Regions from separate parts of the Homo sapiens genome. Here all the other regions are linked to region 2. Evidence: promoter capture Hi-C in human tissues and cell types (Jung and others, 2019). All regions are on one chromosome and are shown on one strand. The core of a region is centred on a gene start or on the middle of the fragment in contact, and the rest is flanking DNA. Distances in the headings are between cores, read along the strand shown. Region 1 holds the start of RILPL2 (Rab interacting lysosomal protein like 2). Region 2 holds the start of DDX55 (DEAD-box helicase 55). Region 3 overlaps RILPL2 (Rab interacting lysosomal protein like 2).

Region 1 (4,162 bases), core at 757-3,256, 170 kb after region 2:
CTTACGCCCGTAATCCTAGCACTTTGGGAGGCCCAGGTGGGAGGATTGCCCGAGCTCAGGAGTTCGCGACCAGCCTGGGCAGCACAGTGAAACCCCATCTCTACTAAAATACAAAAAATTAGCCAGGCGGGGCGGCATGCGCCTGTGGTCCCAGCTACTGGGGAGGCTGAGGTAGAAGAATTGCTTTAACCAGGGAGGCGGAGGTTGCGGTGAGCCGAGATCATGCCACTGAGCTCCAGCCTGGGCAACAGAGCAAGATTCTGTCTCTAAATAAATAAATAAACAAATAAATAAAATAAAATAAAATAAAATAAAAAGAAACGACCCTCTGAAAATAGTGTGTTTTGTTAATTTGCTTTGCTTTTGTTGGTTGGTTTAATCTATGTACATTCTCCATTGAGATTCTAGTACCTCAGTGTGGAGAAAATGGATACACCTATCACAAGGAAAGCTGCCAATACATTCCTGGGAAAGACAAGCCCCGTTGCTGAGCTTTCTGCCTGAGACTATCACAAACCTCCAGTGAAACCTAAAATAACTTGAGATTTGTTGTGCCTTTTTTTTTGAGACATGATCTTACTCTGTCACCATGGTCCCACTCTGTCACAGGCACCACTCTGTGGTGAGATCTTGGCTCACTGCAGCCTCAACATCCCGGGCTCAAGTGGTCCTCCCACCTCAGCCTCCCGAGTACCTGCCACTACAGGCATGAACCACTGTGTCCAGCTACTTTTGTTTACTTTTTGTAGAGACAGGGTCTCACTATGATGCCCAAGCTAGTCTCAAATTCCTGGGCTCAAGCAATCCTCCTGCGTCAGCCTCCTGAAGTGTTGAGATTAAGGCATGAGCCACAGCGAATGACTCAAGTTTCTACGCCACTCTGCTAATATTCTCAGTAATATGGATTCCGCATATGTGTCGAATGCTTTGTGATTTTCAGACAGGGGTTTCTCTCTTGTTAATTACTCCTCCTTCTCTCACCCAAGTAGCAAGGTGTCTCCAACACCAGCAATTCCTCCCTAGCGCTGTGGAAGAAAGAATGAAGGGGCCGGGCGCGGTGGCTCACGCCTGTAATCCCAGCACTTTGGGAGGCCGAGGCAGGTGGATCACGAGGTCAGGAGATCGAGACCATCCTGGCGAACATGGTGAAACCCCGTCTCTACTAAAAATACAAAAAAATTAGCCGGGCGTGGTGGCGCGTGCCTGTAGTCCCAGCTACTCGGGAGGCTGAGGCAGGAGAATGGCGTGAACCTGGGAGGCGGAGCTTGCAGCAAGCCGAGATCGCGCCACTGCACTCCAGCCTGGGCGACACAGGGAGACTCCGTCTCAAAAAAAAAAAGAAAGAAAGAAAGAAAGAAAGAATGAAGGATTGCAGTCACGTATGTGAGTGCTTCCTAAGTGCTTGAGGTGTCGCACACATGATCTCATAAGCTCATGTTCCTCGCAGCAACCCTGCCACCTGGGTCCCGCTATTGTCCCCATTTTACAGAGGAGGAGACTGAGGCTCGGAGACGTTAAGTAACTTGCCAAGGTGACAGCGCTGGTTACGTGGAGGAGCCGAGGACCCAGCGAAGTGAGCAGGGCAGACATTCTCCATTTTATTGAGAGTCACAGCGAAGTCGGACGCCCCAGGCCCTAGTGACAATTTGCCTGGGAGTTTTCCAGATCCTCAAGCCTCGGGGACTCTGTCGCGCTGCCCCCAGCAGCTGCTTTCTGTTTGGCCGCAGGCTCCAGAAAACACCCTCAAAGAGACACCCGGATCTTCCATCACCTACGATGCAAATTCTACGGCTGGAAAGCACGAGGGTGGAAAGGAAAAAGTTGCGTTCTTTTTACCCCGCTCTGGATTGCACGGTGGAAACTCCGTCTCCACGGAAACGCACCTCCTGGCAGCGGTCGCCAGGGGCGGGGCTCAGGGCGGCTCCTCCCCGGGGCTGCAACTGTTCCCAGGCTGGGGCGATTGCCGTCACCCCTGAACTTCCCCGTTCCTCTTCTCGGCTGCCTCCTTTTCCGTTGTCCCTTCGCGCCCCAAACCACATCCTGGAGCGCACTCTCCAGCGTGGCTGGCAGCGGGGACGGTGCGCCGGGGCGCAGGCCCAAGAGTCGCGTGCGCGGCCCCTTGCACCATCCCCCCGGGCCCACCCCCGGGCCGCGCTGATTGGGCAGGTAGGGACTCTGCCCAGCGGAAAGTTTTGGGTGCCGGGAGGAAGTCTAACCTTTGGGAGACTCCAAGACAGCAGCTCCGAGGTCGGCGGGGGTCTGGGTGGCCATGGAGGAGCCCCCTGTGCGAGAAGAGGAAGAGGAGGAGGGAGAGGAGGACGAGGAGAGGGACGAGGTTGGGCCCGAGGGGGCGCTGGGCAAGAGCCCCTTCCAGCTGACCGCCGAGGACGTGTATGACATCTCCTACCTGTTGGGCCGCGAGCTTATGGCCCTGGGCAGCGACCCCCGGGTGACGCAGCTGCAGTTCAAAGTCGTCCGCGTCCTGGAGATGCTGGAGGCGCTGGTGAATGAGGGCAGCCTGGCGCTGGAGGAGCTGAAGATGGAGAGGGACCACCTCAGGAAGGAGGTGGAGGGGCTGCGGAGACAGAGCCCTCCGGCCAGCGGGGAGGTGAGTGTGGGAGCGAGGGTTCCGGGCCCACGGCGCCTGCGGGGCGTAGGAGGGCACCTACTGGCAGGGAGACGCCTTCCTTTTCTTTTCTCTTCTCTTTTCTCTTTTTTCTTTTTTTAAGAGATGGGATCTCGCTGTGTTGCCCAGGCTGGTCTCAAACTCCTGGCTCCAAGTGATCCCCCAGCCTCAGCCTCCTAGAGTGCTGGGTTTACAGGTGTGAGCCACCCTGCCTGGCCAGAATCTGTATTTCTAACGAGTTCGCAGTTAATGCTGATGCTATTGGCCCAGGGTCCACAGTTTGAGAACCTTTGACCTAGAGCAAGAAACACTTTTTTTTTCTTTTGACACAGGGTCCTGCTCTATCTCCCAGGCTAGAGTGCAGTGGTGCAAACACGGCTCACTACAGCCTTGGCCTCCTAGGCTCAAGCAATTCTCCTGCCTTGCCCTTCCAAGTAGCTGGGAGTACAGGCATGTGCCACCATGCCTGGCTAACTTTTTTGATGTTTTGTAGAGATGGGGGTCTCACCGTTACCCAGGCTGGTCTCAAACTCCTAAGCTCAAGGAATCCTCCCACCTTGGCCTCCCAAAGTGCTGGGCTTGTGGATGTGAGCCACCACACTTGGACAAGAAACACATTTTACCTAAAGAGAAATTAGTGCATATGACCACAAAAAGACATAGACAAGAAGATTCAGAGCAGCTTTAGTCTCAGCTGCCAAACTGGAAACACTCTAAATGCAACCCAATTGAGTTTTGAAATTGTGATATATGGAATACTATGCAACAGAGAAAAAGAACGGGGTGCTGATACACACAGCAGTGTGAATGAATCTCACAGATGTAACATTGAGAGAAAGAAGCCAGGCACTAAAGAGAAACTACTGTAGATTTTTTTTTTTTTTGAGTCAGAATCTTGCTCTGTTGCTCAGACTGTAGTGCAGTGGCGTGACCTCGACTCACTGCAACCTCCACCTCCTGGATTCAAGCGATTCTCCTGCCTCAGCCTCCTGAGCAGCTGGGATTGCAAGCGTGTGCCACCACGCGTGGCTATTTTTTTTTTTTCTTTTTTGGTAGAGACGGGGTTTCACCATGTTGGCCAGGCTGGTCTCAAACTCCTGGCCTCAAGTGACCCACCCACCTCAGCCTTCCAAAGTGCTGGGATTACAGGCCTGAGCCACAGCACCCAGCCCTACTGTACATTTAAATAAAATTCATGAACAGGCAAAATAATTTATAGTTATAGAAGGCAAACTGGTGGTGGGGGGAAAAGAAGGGAAATTGATAGAGAGCTAGAAGTGTCCCATATCTTAATCAGGGTATGGATATAGGGATCTACACATATGTTAAAAATCATCTGGCTGGGTGCTGTGACTCACGCCTGTAATCCCAGCACTTTGGGAGGCCAAGGCGGGCAGATCACAAGGTCAGGAATTTGAGACCAGCCTGGCCAACATGGTGAAACTCTATCTCTACTAAAACTACAGAAAAAAATTAGCCGGGCGTGGTGGCGGGTGCCTGTAATCCCAGCTACTCGGGAGGCTGAGGCCGGAGAAT
Region 2 (4,116 bases), core at 1,280-3,779:
TGATTTGGACAAAGTGTATTTCAAGCACTTGATAGCCATGTCTGATGACTGTGTAGTGGATGACAGGTCTAGACAATGAGCTCTGAGGCCAGAGATTGGGTCTTGCTCGCACTACATTCCCTAGGCAGGGCACATAGCACTCCCAGTTTTCATCTCCAGCCCTGCCTGCTGGAAATACATTCTCCACATTCCCGGGAATCTTATGGGCATCTCAAACTCAAGACTTCATTTATTTAAAAAAAATTTTTGTGATGACAGGGCCTCCCTATGTTGCCCAGGCTGGTCTTGAACTCCTGATCTCAAGTGATCCTCCCACCTTGGTCTCCAAAAGTGCTAGGATTACAGGCGTGAGCCACCGTGCCCGGCCATTATTTATTTTAATTTCGAAGATGCGGGTCTCACTATGTTGCTCAGGCTGGTCTTGAACTCCTGGGCTCAAGGGATCCTCCCACCTCAGCCTTCCAAACAAATGGTACTACAGGCGGGTGCCACTGTACCCAGCTCAGTGTTTAAAAACAGGACTCTTGTGGTCAGGCGCAGTGGCTCACTCCTGTAATCCCAGCACTTTGGGAGGCCAAGGCGGGCGTACCTGAGGTCAGGAGTTCAAGACCAGTCTGGCCAACATGGCGAAATCCCGTCTCTACTAAAAACACAAAAATTAGCCAGGCGTGGTGGTGTATGCCTGTAACCCCAGCTACTTGGAAGGCTGAGATGGGAGAATAGCTTGAACCCGGGAGGCAGAAGTTGCAGTGAGCCGAGATCGTGTCATTGCACTCCAACCTGGGCAACAGAGAAAGATTCCGTCTCAAAAAAGTTAAAAACAAACAAACAAACAAAAAACAAAAAAAAGAACTCTTGACTTTCCCTCTGAAACCTGATACGCACGCCAGTCATTCTTGGGAAATGGTAACACCATTCACTCAGCTACTAATAAAAATCAGCCGGGTGCGGTAGCTCAGCCTGTAATCCCAGCACTTTGGGAGGCCAAGGCGGGTGGATCAGGAGGTCAGGAGTTCAAGACCAACCTGGCCGAGATGGTGAAACCCCGTATCTACTAAAAATACAAAAAATTAGCCGGGCATGGTGGCAGGCACCTGTGATCTCAGCTACTTGGGAGGTTCAGGCAGAGAATTGCTTGAACCCAGGAGGCGGAGGTTGCAGTGAGCCGAGATCGCGCCACTGCACTCCAGCCTGGGCAACAGAGCGAGACTCCATCTCAAAAAAAAAAAAAAAAAGAATAAAAACCTCAGGTCCTGTAGTCTTTTCTTTCCTAACCTCCACTTCCAGTCCCTTAGCAACCTTAAAGCTATCCCAAATGTGACTTCTCAGTATCCACTGGTTCCACCCTACTCCAAGTCACCATCATCTCTTACCTGACAATGGCCTCCTAAGCGACCTGCCTGCTTCATCTCTTATGCCTGGAAAGGCCACTCTCTACAGAGAAATCACAGCCCTTCCCTTCCTAAACATCCTCCCAGATAAGATGGCTTCCCACTACATTTAGAATGAAATCCAAGCGCCTACAAGACCCTGCACAATCCATCTCTTACACTACTCTTGATGTTCAGCCACAAAGGCCTCCTTTCTGCTGCTCAAACTATTTGCAGCCTGCCGCAGGGCATTTATGTGCACTGGTATTTCTCTCCAGTGGAATAATCTCCCCCTAGTCACCTCAGAGCCAGCTCCTTCTCAATCACTGAGGTCTCAGCTCAATGCACCTCCTCAGAGAGGCCTTCCTTAACACCCTATCTCACCTCCTCTGCAGTCCTCGCGCGACACTATCACAACCGTCTTAGTTCTTTCATAACACTTACCAGCAGCTGAAATTATCCTTTCTCTAGCTCTTGCACTAGAAAGTAAGGCTATGAGCAGATGCCAATACTGCAAACTCCCCAGAGCCTAGAAGAGTTCCTGACACATAGCAGGTCCTCAAGAAATATTCTTGAAGAGATGCATAACAACGGTAACCCTTACTGAGCTCCCATAGTGTGCCGACTGGTTTATTTAGTCCCCACAGCAACCCCATAAGGAGGGTGTTATTTTTTCGTCATTTCACAGAGAAGGAAAATGAAGCACGGAGAGGTTAAGCCATTTGCCCGAGGTCTCACAGCTACAGCGAGCAGGGCCAGGATGAGAACCAGGCTTGAGACCACAGCACCCGAGGGCGGGGTGGGTCGCGGCCCCTCTGCCGGCTCGCTGGCCGGGCAGCTCCGCATTCCGCCAGTCTGGGCAGCTGGAGACAAGGCAAGAGCCCCAGCTGGAGGGATGAGCGCCCCAGGGCTCAGATCTGTCCGATCACCTCCTGTGGGTCCGATGCAGCGGGTGCCTGCCCCTCTCCCAGCCTCACTCCCCCACGCCAGGGAACCGATACCTGCACCGGCGTCATGTACGGGAAGCCCAGCTCCCGCAGCGCGCCCAGCACCTGCGGGTGCAGCGGCACAGGCAGCGACTCCCAGGAGCCCTCTGTCACATGCTCCATGGCGCGCTCCTTCGCCGCGTCGGTCGCCGCTGCTCGAACGCGCCTTGTGCACCCCCAACGAGCACTTCCGCTTCCCGCAGCTCCAGCGGCCGGCCGGGAACTTCGCTGGAGCAGCAGAGTTCCGGAGCGCGGCGAAGGCTCCCACGCCGCGGGAGGGAGGAAAGGCGTCCGCGGGACGGTGGAGGCAGGCGGCGGGGCAGGCCTGGGGAGTTACACCCGCTCCGCACAGCGCCCTGGGCTCCGGGCGCCTCTCCGCACCGGGCAGGAGTTTTGGCGGGAGGGATTCTGGCCCGGCCCTCCCACTTTCTCTGCCCCTCGGAGGCAGGTGGCAGCACAGGACCGCGTCCAGGCCGAAGGACAGCGGGGCTGGCTACCGTGGGCAGAGAAACGTGTCGGGGACCCGGGTTAGCAGCCCTGCAAAACAGGCACCCGCTGATGGCCGGTACGTCCTGAATGTTGCGGTCCGATGGCCGGTACGTCCTGAATGTTGGTTTACTTTCCCGGAAGTTAGGGTCAGAGTCCTAACTAAGAACACTGTCCCATTCCTCTGTTCACTGTTTGCCTGGGCCATTCATGTCCACATACAACTTCACTCAGAAAGCTGTTTTTGTTGTTGTTGTTGTTGTTGTTGTTGTTTGAGACGGAGTCTCGCTCTGTTGCCCAGGCTGGAGGCTGGGCGCTATAACGGTTCACTGCAAGCTCCGCCTCCCGGGTTCACGCCCTTCTCCTGCCTCAGCCTCCCGAGTACCTGGGACTGCAGGCGCCCTCCACCACGCCCGGCTAATTTTTTGTATTTTTAGTAGAGACGGGGTTTCACCGTGTTAGCCAGGATGGTCTCGATTTCCTGACCTCGTGATCCGCCCGCCTCGGCCTCCCAAAGTGCTGGGATTACAGGCGTGAGCCACCGCGCCCGGCCTTCACTCAGCAAACTTTTATTGACCACTCATTATGTGCCCTCTATGAGGGCCTATCTCCTCCACCTATGTGCATGGCTTGCTCCTGTTGAGGCTCTGAAAACGAAACCCCAAAATGAAGGCCCCAGAGGCAGCCTCAGAAGCAAGTTTCTCTCTGACCTTCTGCTCCCTCTCTGATCTCTGATTCTCTGAGGCTAGCCATAGAAACTCAAGAATCCCTCTTGCCCATGACGGAGCATAGAAACAGGAATCCCTTTTCTCCACAGTCAGCCATAAAACCTAAAAATATTACTCTCTCTCCACCTTTCTGTGAAAAAACTGGCCATAAAGAAATTATTGGCCTGGCACGGTGGCTCACGCCTGTAATCTCACCACTTTGGGAGGCCAAAGCGGGCAGATCTCAAGGTCAGGAGTTCGAGACCAGCCTGGCCAATATGGTGAAACCCCGTCTCTACTAAAAATACAGAAATTAGCCAGGCGTGGTGGCGCATGCCTGTAGTCCCAGCTACTCAGGAGCCTGAGGCAGAAGAATCGCTTGAACCAGGGAGGTGGAGGTTGCGCCACTGCACTCCAGCGTGGGTGACAAAGCGAGACTCAGTCTCAAAAAAAAAAAGAAAAAGAAATTATCTGGGCTAGGTGCGGTGGCTCATGCCTGTAATCCCAGCACTTTGGGAGGCTGAGGCAGGCGGATCACCTAAGGTAAGGAGTTTGAGACCAGCCTGG
Region 3 (4,582 bases), core at 489-2,988, 190 kb after region 2:
CTTAATGAGCTACTAGAATCAATGAGTGAATGAATGAACGAATGAATGTGTTTTTTTGTTTTTGTTTTTGAGACGGAGTCTCAATCTGTCACCCAGGCTGGAGTGCAGTGGCACCATCTTGGCTCACTGCAAGCTCCGCCTCCCGGGTTTATGCCATTCTCCTGCCTCAGCCTCCCGAGGCAGCTGGGACTACAGGCGCCCGCCACCACACCCGGCTAATTTTTTGTATTTTTAGTAGAGACGGGGTTTCACCGTGTGAGCCAGGATGGTCTCGATCTCCTGACCTCATGATCTGCCTGCCTCCGTCTCCCAAAGTGCTGGGATTACAGGCATGAGCCACCGCACCCGGGTTTTTTGGGGTTTTTTTGCTTTTTCTTTTTCTTTTGAGATAGTGTCTTGCTCTGTCGCCCAGGCTGGAGTGCAGTGGCGCAATCTCGGCTCACTGCAACCTCTGCGTCCCGGGTTCAAGCGATTCTCCTGCCTCAGCTTCCTGAGTAGCTGGGATTACAGGTGTATGCCACCACGCCTGGTTAATTTTTTTTTTTTTTTAGAGATGGGGTCTCACTATGCTGCCCAGGCATGTCTGAGACTCCTGGGATCAAGTGATCCTCATCCTCTTGCCTCAGCTTCCCAAAATCATAGGATTACAGGCGTGAGCCACAATGCCTGGCCTGGACATATTTTTGAGTCAACAGCTGCAAGAGCTACTTAGAAATTTTACGGGGGTTGCTGTGCCCCTTGCTTTGTTCCTTCTGCTTACCCTGAACCCTCTCTCTCTCCACACCAGGTTCTTTTTTCGATCGGGGAAACAGACCTAGATCCAAGGCCACAAGTAAGGCTATGGCTCTGATTCTAGAAGACAACCTTCCAAGATGCCTGGCAAAACCACCTCCCTGTGCCACACAGACACACTAGGCCTGTGTATTTATTTCCCCTTCAAAGCAGACTGAGGAGGGAGGAGACGAGGTTCTCTTGGCATCACTTTCTCCCTGGCTGCAGAACTAGACACCCTTGAAGATTTGGCCTGGGCCAGTGAGACTGAAATCAAGAAAAACAGAAGGGATGTGCAGGGTGGGGGGGTCCACTTCCTGCTCCCATGTCAACCCCCAGGGCCTCCAGCGTGCAGACGCGTGTCCTACTCATCTGCTCCCACGGATGACCCTGGTCTTCAATGGTTAGCAGAAGGGAGAAAAGAAAGCAGGAAAATGTGCTATTGAGATTCCAGTGGTGACTTCACTGATATTTAGTGAATATTTGATTTAGCCAACATGCCTTTCTTTATGTGATTTTGTATTAAAGTAAAATGATTTTTATACTTTCTATAGCTTATCTAGAGTGGTCTCTTAGTTACGATGGTACACATGGTATATGTGTGTATATGTCATATATCTACATTTCATTGTATAATGAATCAATTGCATTCATTCAGTCTAAGCGATGCACGATTATCTGGTGTCACTATGAAGGGAAAGATTGCTGCAAACTAAAATGTTAAGAAGCTATCGATTTTAGGACTCATCCTGATTTCAGAGGTGTTAAGATGTGAACAAAATGCATTTAGGAATCAATGAAACAGAGAGCGGGTGTCTGCACTTCGCAAAGGAACTAATGAGGCTGCCGCAACCATTCCGTGAGCCTGTCTTCTTAGTAAATAACAGTGGCTTACTCAATGTGTTTCGCCTGCTCTGTGGATTATCTCATTTGTTCCTCATAACCTGGGGAGATGGGGACCGGTACCGGTGCACCAGTTTATAGATTTTTTTTTTTTTTTTTTTTGAGACGGAGTCTCTCGCTCTGTCGCACAGTCTGGAGTGCAGTGGCACGATCTCGGCTCACTACAAGCTCTGCTGCCTACGTTCACGCCATTCTCTTGCCTCAGCCTCCTGAGTAGCTGGGACTACAGGCACTTGCCACCACACTCGTCTAATTTTTTTGTATTTTTAGTAGAGACAGGGTTTCGCCGTGTTAGCCAGGATGGTCTCGATCTCCTGACCTCGTGATCCACCCGCCTCAGCCTCCCAAAGTGCTGGTGAGAGGTGACAGCGTGCTGGCAGTCCTCACAGCCCTCGCTCGCTCTCGGCGCCTCCTCTGCCTGGGCTCCCACTTTGGCGGCACTTGAGGAGCCCTTCAGCCCACCGCTGCACTGTGGGAGCCCCTTTCTGGGCTGGCCAAGGCCGGAGCCCGCTCCCTCAGCTTGCAGGGAGGTGTGGAGGGAGAGGCGCGAGCGGGAACCGGGGCTGCGCGGGGCGCTTGCGGGCCAGCTGGAGTTCCGGGTGGGCGTGGGCTTGGTGGGCCCCGCACTCGGAGCAGCTGGCGGGCCCTGCCGGCTCCGGGCAATGAGGGGCTTAGCACCCGGGCCAGCGGCTGCTGAGGGTGTGCTGGGTCCCCCAGCAGTGCCAGCCCACCGGCGCTGCGCTCGATTTCTCGCCGGGCCTTAGCTGCCTTCCCGTGGGGCAGGGCTCGGGACCTGCAGCCCGCCATGCCTGAGCCTCCCACCCCCTCCGTGGGCTCCTGTGCGGCCCAAGCCTCCTCCACGAGCCCCACCCCCTGCTCCATGGTGTCCAGTCCCATCAACGACCCAAGGGTTGAGGAGTGCAGGCACAGGGCACGGGACTGGCAGGCAGCTCCATCTGCAGCCCCGGTGCGGGATCCACTGGGTGAAGCCAGCTGGGCTCCTGAGTCTGCTGGGGACGTGGAGAACCTTTGTGTCTAGCTCAGGGATTGTAAATACACCAATCGGCACTCTGTATCTAGCTCAAGGTTTGTGAACACACCAATCAGCACCCTGTGTCTAGCTCAGGGTTTGTGAATGCACCAATCGACATTCTGTATCTAGCTACTCTGGTGGGGCCTTGGAGAACCTTTGTGTCCACACTCTGTATCTAGCTAATCTGGTGGGGACGTGGAGAACCTTTGTGTCTAGATCAGGGATTGTAAACGCACCAATCAGCGCCCTGTCAAAACAGACCACTTGGCTCTACCAATCAGCAGGATGTGGGTGGGGCCAGATAAGAGAATAAAAGCAGGCTGCCCCAGGCAGCAGTGGCAACCCGCTCGGGTTCCTTTCCGCATTGTGGAAGCTTTGTTCTTTTGTTCTTTGCAATAAATCTTACTACTGCTTACTCTTTGGGTCCACACTGCTTTTATGAGCTGTAATACTCACCCCGAAGGTCTGCAGCTTCACTCCTGAAGCTAGGGAGACCAGGAGCCCACCAGGAGGAACGAGCAACTCCAGACGCGCCGCCTTAAGAGCTGTAACACTCACCACGAAGGTCTGCAGCTTCACTCCTGAGCCAGCGAGATCACGAACCCACCAGAAGGAAGAAACTCCGAACACATCTGAACATCAGAAGGAACAAACTCTGGACACGCCACCTTTAAGAACTGTAACACTCACCGCGAGGGTCCGCGGCTTCATTCTTGAAGTCAGTGAGACCAAGAACCCACCAATTCCGGACACACTGGGATTACAGGCGTGAGCCACCGCACCCGGCTTTTTTTTGGGGGGTGGTGGGGACGGAGTCTTGCTCTATCGCCCAGGCTGGAGTGCAGTGGCACCATCTGGGTTCACTGCAATCTCTGCCTCCCAGATTCAAGCGATGCTCCTGCCTCAGCCTCCCGACTAGCTGGGACTATAGGTATATGCCACCACACTGGGTTAATTTTTGTATTTTTGTAGAGACGGGGTTTCACCATATTGGCCAGGCTGGTCTCGAACTCCTGACCTCATGATCCGCCCTCCTCGGCCTCCCAAAGTGCTGGGATTACAGGCGTGAGTCACCGTGCCCGGCCAGTTTATAGGTTTAGAAACTGAAACTCTGGCTGTGGAGCTAGGAAGCAGCTTGCCCAGGAGGCAAATGCAGGCCTGATTCCAAGGCCCGGGCGCGGAGCTGCCAAGCTTTATGGGTCCAGAGTCACTGGCAAGTCCTAATAATAGTAATAATTTACTGTATGCCTCGCCTGCATCATTCTAAGTACCTTTCCGATGCTGTCTCACATACTTTTGTGGGATGGGTATCACTATTGTCCTTGGGGTCCTCCCAAGGAGGTTAAGGCATAATGGGTGAAAAGTCTTGTCTAAGGTCCTCAGCTAGAAAGTGGTAGAAGCAGGACTTGAGCCCAGATACAAAGTCCACACACAGGCTTCAACCACTCTGCCTTCCAGGAAGAGCTGGTAGTGTTTAAGAGTCTAGTCCAGAACACTGTCTCAACAGCATCATTAGATCAGGGCTCCTAATCCCTAGAACCCTGTGTAACACTGCAACCCTGGCCAGGCATAGTGGTTCAAGCCTGTAATTCCAGCACTTTTGGAGGCCAAGGTGAGAGGATTGCTTGAGCCCAGGAGTTCGAGACCAGCCTAGGCAACATAGTAAGAACCTATCTTTACAAAAAACAAAAAATTAGCCAGGCATGGTGGTGAGCACCTGTAGTCCCAGCTCCTGGGGAGGCTGAGGCGGGAAGATTAATTGAGCCCGGGAGTTTGAGGCTGCAGTGAGCTATGATCACACCACTACACTCCAGCCTGGGTGACAGAGTGAGACCCTGTCTCCAAATATATAAATGCTCCCCTGCCTCCCTGTGG

What was found. The method cuts DNA at HindIII sites, captures the fragments that hold promoters and counts their contacts. A contact is called where the count stands out against the background at its distance.
Region 1: the fragment with the promoter of RILPL2 here is called in contact with the fragment with the promoter of DDX55 in region 2 in 1 of the 25 tissues and cell types used here (adrenal gland).
Region 3: a contact is called between a fragment that was not itself captured here and the fragment with the promoter of DDX55 in region 2, in 3 of the 25 tissues and cell types used here (aorta, heart right ventricle and pancreas).

Annotation. Positions count from the first base shown.
Region 1 is chr12:123,434,528-123,438,689 of GRCh38, reverse strand. It overlaps RILPL2 (Rab interacting lysosomal protein like 2), which reads left to right and starts at 2,006. Exons shown (of 4, transcript NM_145058.3): 1 at 2,006-2,608. The coding sequence starts at 2,270. RefSeq lists a silencer at 2,000-2,259 and an enhancer at 2,101-3,030. The HindIII fragment of the contact is 18,752 bases long and covers 1-4,162 here.
Region 2 is chr12:123,600,512-123,604,627 of GRCh38, reverse strand. It overlaps DDX55 (DEAD-box helicase 55), which reads right to left and starts at 2,529. Exons shown (of 14, transcript NM_020936.3): 1 at 2,372-2,529. The coding sequence starts at 2,479. RefSeq lists an enhancer at 1,768-1,817 and a silencer at 2,058-2,167. The HindIII fragment of the contact is 15,410 bases long and covers 1-4,116 here.
Region 3 is chr12:123,412,127-123,416,708 of GRCh38, reverse strand. RILPL2 (Rab interacting lysosomal protein like 2) reads left to right here. Exons shown (of 4, transcript NM_145058.3): 4 at 788-1,670. The coding sequence ends at 818. Among named protein-coding and RNA genes, the nearest start is that of RILPL2, 22 kb to the left of the region's middle. The HindIII fragment of the contact is 7,685 bases long and covers 1-4,582 here.